2 separate regions of the Homo sapiens genome follow, and region 2 is linked to region 1. Evidence: promoter capture Hi-C in human tissues and cell types (Jung and others, 2019). All regions are on one chromosome and are shown on one strand. Each heading gives the region's core, a stretch centred on a gene start or on the middle of the fragment in contact. The rest is flanking DNA. Distances are from core to core; before and after follow the strand shown.

The links. The method cuts DNA at HindIII sites, captures the fragments that hold promoters and counts their contacts. A contact is called where the count stands out against the background at its distance.
Region 2: a contact is called between a fragment that was not itself captured here and the fragment with the promoter of C6orf141 in region 1, in 1 of the 25 tissues and cell types used here (H1 embryonic stem cells).

What each region holds. Positions count from the first base shown.
Region 1 is chr6:49,549,237-49,551,943 of GRCh38, reverse strand. It overlaps C6orf141 (chromosome 6 open reading frame 141), which reads right to left and starts at 1,276. Exons shown (of 1, transcript NM_001145652.2): 1 at 1-1,276. The coding sequence starts at 1,151. The coding sequence ends at 417. RefSeq lists enhancers at 1-475, 492-561 and a silencer at 1,232-1,291. The HindIII fragment of the contact is 21,386 bases long and covers 1-2,707 here.
Region 2 is chr6:49,835,381-49,838,348 of GRCh38, reverse strand. It overlaps CRISP1 (cysteine rich secretory protein 1), which reads left to right. Exons shown (of 8, transcript NM_001131.3): 8 at 2,906-2,968. Among named protein-coding and RNA genes, the nearest start is that of CRISP1, 30 kb to the left of the region's middle. The HindIII fragment of the contact is 5,773 bases long and covers 1-2,968 here.

The DNA.
Region 1 (2,707 bases), core at 27-2,526:
CTCCACCCACTCCCACCCTCTTTGCAGAGAGCAGACTTCAAACTTCACTTCTGTTTCTAGGTCCTAAAGAGAAACAAGAGGGGGGCGGGGAACAGAAAAGAGATCAATTGAGAGTTATTCCAAAATGCAAATTAACAACAGGTTTTCTCATTTCAAAACTCCCACATTCTGCCAATCTGAAAATATCTTTTCTCCACCTCTTCTGAATGACTTAGGTCCCCAGACAGCGAAGGAATTCAAGCCACAAAGGAGGTATTATGCTGCTTACAGTTCTTAATCTGCCTCCCCGAAGCGCTGCACCAGCCTCTCAAAAGGTTCCTTCTGTAGGTTAATTGCAGGTTGGAGCTCCCAGAATAGCATTTTCTTTTAAGGATGATCGCTCATCCACCATCCCGGAACATTTCTCGAGCTACTCATTAGAGTTTAATTTCCTCGAGCCAAGTCCCTGGAGACGGTGAAACCCTCCTCCCCGCGGCGTGGACGCGGGATGCCCCTGTTCGTGCCTGGAGAGCCCGGGATTCAGCAGGGCCCCAGCGTTCCCCAGGCTGTCCCTCTCTACTGCTGCGAAAAGTGAGCGCGGTCACGAAGTGCTCCTCAGTCCTCGTGGTCATGCGACCCTTGGCCCAGGAGGTCTGCAACACTTCTTGTGTTACCTGATAATCCTCCACCCGCACAAGCACGTATTTGGGTGGGTCTGCTGCGTCCCGCGGCGGGGCTACACGCCTGCCAGAAATTCGCTTTTGTCGTTGAAAGACAGAAGGGTAGTTGGGCTCCTCGCCGTGGTCCTCTCCACCCGCATGAGGAAGGTCCTCTGCACCGGCCACCTCTTCCCGTGCAGGGTCCCCTCGAGTCCCTAACCACCTCTCTGGGTGCAGGAGAAAGAGCACTTTCTCTCTGACCCAGGACTCACGGTCCAATTCCTCCCCGGCCCGAGGTCCGAGGGCCCGATCTGCCGTTCTGTCCTCGTGGCCGCCGCCCTGGCTTCGGCTCGCCCCTGCCGTCGCGGGATTCCGGGCGCCCGGAGCTAGCGGAGCCCCGCGCCCTACCTCCCGCGGAAAAGGCCCGAGGTCCCCCAGGCTGCGGGAGGAGTCCATGGGATTCGCAGCTCCCTGAGGCCCCCGGGTCTCCATCCTGGCAAAAGGGTCATTCATTCGTTCCTTCTTTGACCGGTTCAAGCAGCAAGCGCCTGCTGAGCTCCGGAAAGCGCGGGACCACCAAGCCCTGGGTGTGGCCTCTGCTGCAGCTCCGGACTCCCAGCCGGTGAAAGCTGAAGACTAGATCAGCCCCAGGCTAACCGCGTGCGGAACCCGCCTCTTCACCCTCCGCCTCTCCCACCTGGCGGCTGTCTAGCCATTCAGAAGAAGCTTGACACAAGCCCCAGTCACTCCTCTTCTTCCTCCTACCCCTGTCCGGAGCCCTGCTCCCTTTGTCATTCGCTGATTCAGTCCCCTCTTACTTTTCACCTCTATCCTAGTTTCCCACCCACCTTTCGTTTTTCTCCGGAGCTGAGGCGCAAAGGACACCCTCGCACTGCGCCCCCACTGAAATGCCCCGAAGTATGTTTGCTTTCCAAGGACGCTCCTTGAGGTGAAGGAACAAAGAAGTTTGTGTGCATTTTAATTAGCTGATCTAATTCTGAAAAGGGTTTTTGTCCATTCCGAATCCACTCCCACCATGCTGCCAAAATAATGGAATGTAGATCAAATGGTCAGACTGAAAAGCTGAAGCCTTGGAGAAACTGGTTTTGGTTTCTTTGTCCTTCTTCCTTTAGAATGCCAGAATCTGTAGCTCTGGAGGACAATGGTCACACCTGTGTCCTCCTCCTCCTCTTCCTCCTCCTTCTTTTTTCCCGCTCTCTTTCTCTCTCCCTCTCCCCGCTCCCCCTTCCTCTTACCCCACCCCCCCACATTAGATATGGTCTCGCTCTGTAGCTCAGGATAGAGTGCAGTGGCGCAGCCTCGACTTTCCAGGCTCCCACCTCAGCCCGTCAAGTAGCCGGGACTACAGGCGCGCACCCCCATGCCCGGCTTTTATTTATTTATTTATTTATTTATTTATTTATTTATTTATTTATATTTTTCTAAGAGATGGTAGGGGTGGGGCTCTCCTATATTGCCCAGGCTGGTCTGGAACTCCTGGGCTTACGAGATACCCAGGATCCCCCACCCTACCCACACACCCACCTGGGCCTCCCAAAATTCTGGGATTACAGGCTTGAGCCACGGCCCTGGCCAGTCTTCATTTTGTGTGTAATCAACGCTTGTCTCAGGAAGGTGTAGTCTTTGATTTAAAACAAGCTATAAAACAGAAGCAAAACAAACATCCAAATGAATTTTTTCAGGACTTAAAATTGTTTGTGTTTGTGTCGTTTATAAAATTCCCTCTGCACCCACCCGTCCTCTTTAACCACAGGGGTTAAAAAAAGTTAAGTGTCTCTGGCGAGGCTTTTAGAATTTACCCATAGGCAGGCCCGCTGACCACTACTCTTTGCCTAAGGTTAACCGGGGAGGCTAGGTCATAGAAAAAGAGCTCAGTTTGTGGTTTCCAGTTCATCCTTAGCTGTTTGTTTTATTAAAAAACCCACTGATGGCTGGGTGTGGTGGTTCACACCTGTAGCCCCATCATTTTGGAAGTCTGAGGCCGGTGGATCACTTGATGCCAGGAGTTTGAGACCAGCCTGGTCAGCATGGTGAAACCCAGTCTCTAC
Region 2 (2,968 bases), core at 211-2,710, 290 kb before region 1:
ACTTTTCTACAACTTTCATCTCATTCATGTACAAATTATTTCTGCTTACCCCTCCCCAATTGCCAGAGTGACTGAAAACCATTGATTTAACCTATGGCAAAGGAAATTACAAAGTCTAGGTCTGAGAACTCGAGTTCCCACCCAACAGATTAAAATATTTAATTAGGGTCAACCTAGATAAAATATTGAGGTAAGTGTAGATTTTTCTCTGCTCTCTAAAAAGTTCTTGGACCCCCTTACTGCAACCCATAATTTAGGCCCATTGCTTTCAGTTTACCGGTGTTCTCCAATTGCTTGCCCCTCCATGACTACCTACCCAGGTTGCCTGACCACTTATTGTGGCATGCAATTTTTACTGAGTGATCCTTATTCTTCTTTGGTTCCTGTGAACCATCTAAAAAGTTAGCTGATGCTCACATTATTCCTTAAAGCCTCTTTTTTTTTTTTAATTTCTTGAATAAATCTTACCTAAGGTAAAGCTTTAGCCAAATGGGTGCCATTTCTGTTTATTCCCTTAGATAGCCAAATTTCACTTTTTGAAGCCTACCTGCAAACATAATTTCTTAATTTCTAGGAATAATCTTGATTAAGATAAATTATACTAGTAATAAGTCTGTGGAGAAAAAAATAAACCTTAGAAAAATATCCTGTGACCTCCGACTTGAAAGGCCACTTATTTTTCTTCACCTAACCAGGTTACTTTATTGTCTTTTAAAGTAAGAAAGAAAATGGATTCTTCTTCCTCCTTTTACCTTTCTCTCGTTTCTCTTCTCTTGTACTCTTTTATTTACTTCTCTATCTGTCTCCCTCTCTCTTTCTCTGTATCCACTTCACTTTTTATACCCCGTTTCTGGAAAAAAATGTAGATGGAGAGAGATTCCTCCCCACCGGGAAAAAAAAAAAAAAATCAACCAGTTACCTATGCCTTAGCAGGAGAAGGGATGGCAATTGAGTAGATTTTTAGAATCTAGGTGAGAAAAGCAATGTCTGTGGTGGTATAACAATTTAATAGAAGTGAAAGAAGAGTAGGGAAGAGAAATGTTATTCAAGAAGATTGATTATATCACATAGATGATGTATATCATAAGCCCTTTCTTCACCTGTAAGTGTTTGAGAAAGTGAGAGCTATTAAAGGAATATATGAACTTAAGAATTGAACATATTGGGCACAAACAATGCTAAAAATGTAAGACCTAGACATGCAGATATAATTCATTTAATGTAATTCAAATAAAATTTATAAAAATAATTCTTACTTATAATATTAGGAAAGTATATAAATTAAGAACAACAGATAAAAGAAAACAACGGATTACAACACTTTACAGATTCAAAGAAAATATATGTTACTGCTAAAGAAAAAAAAATCCACTGATAGTCATATTTCACCAGAATACTACATAAGAGAATAAAGTAGGATAAAGATAGGTAATTGATTTTTTAAAAAAAATGAGTAATGACTTTGGCAAATTACTGATTGTAGGAAAAAGAAGCAGAGATACACTATCAAATATACAATTGCTCTGGCAGTAATATGACATCCATATTTCATCTCCTTGTTGCACCTTGATAAATCTACTGTAGTTATTCTCCAAGTTCCTGGAAGGTGAATCAGTTTAATAATTTAGGAAGAGGAAAATGTGTATAGCATAGAAGGATATTCACTAAAATAATAAACAGTAAGACATAAATGTAAATTTAAAATTTGTAGGCCGGGCGCGGTGGCTCACGCTTGTAATCCCAGCACTTTGGGAGGCCGAGGCGGGCGGATCACGAGGTCAGGAGATCGTAGACCACCCTGGCTAACATGGTGAAACCCCGTCTCTACTAAAAAATAAAAAAAAAATTAGCAGGGCGTGATGGCGGGCGCCTGTAGTCCCAGCTACTCGGGAGGCTGAGGCAGGAGAATGGCGTGAACCCGGGAGGCAGAGCTTGCAGTGAGCCGAGATTGCACCACTGCACTCCTGCCTGGGCCACAGAGCGAGACTCCGTCTCAAAAAAAAAAAAATAAAATAAAAATAAAAATAAAATTTATAAGATTGTTATAAATTTCATGCAATGATCAAACTTTATAATTGAAGGATAAGAGATATAATGGGAAAATTTAAATTTTTCCATTGTCAAGATTCAAATTCAGGACTGCATAAAGGTCAGAAAATCTTAAAAGAGAGAGGGAATTAAATTATTGTTATTTTTGCCTTTATATAGAGACAAATAGATACATTGGTTAGTTGTGATAGAGAATTCAGGTCAAAAAATATTTTGGTAAGCTTTTTGGTGCTATTGCCACAAATTTAAAATTTTGGGTATCTTCATACTGATTGGAGAATTTCGTGTGCATTTCTGCCTCTGTATGTACCAGGATGTAGGTGCGTGCACATCCATGGGATAGAGCAAGGTGAGAAAAATCACTAGAATGTTAGTTGAGATAACCTCTGGGTGGATGGAGAGATTATATATGCCATCCTATATGTGCTTTTTAATTCCATTTTCCATTGGCTATACATTACTTTTAATAATCCAAAGCAAATCTTTAACCATTAAATAATGCAGCATTAGATAATTAGACAAAAAATTATGAATATTTTATATTGCAATGGCATAGTTAATACTTTCAAAATGACAGTGTAATTAAAAATATGATTCCTCTCCAATCTGTTTATATTGGACTTAAAAAATTGTGATAAAAACTTGTTTTACACAAAGACAAAAATTTTACCTTTTTCTTTTCATACATGATCTTATCACCTGTTTTGCATTCAGATTTAGTTAGCTTATGCTAATTAAATTTAGTTAGCAATTGTTAATAAAAATTTCTCTTTTTGTCTTTAATAAGATGGTCTCTTTCCTCAGCAAATGCGATTTTTAAAAGACTGTGTTGTAAAACCATACTATTTTCTTTCAGCTAACCCCTGCATCTACTATGATGAATACTTCGACTGTGACATACAAGTCCATTATCTGGGAT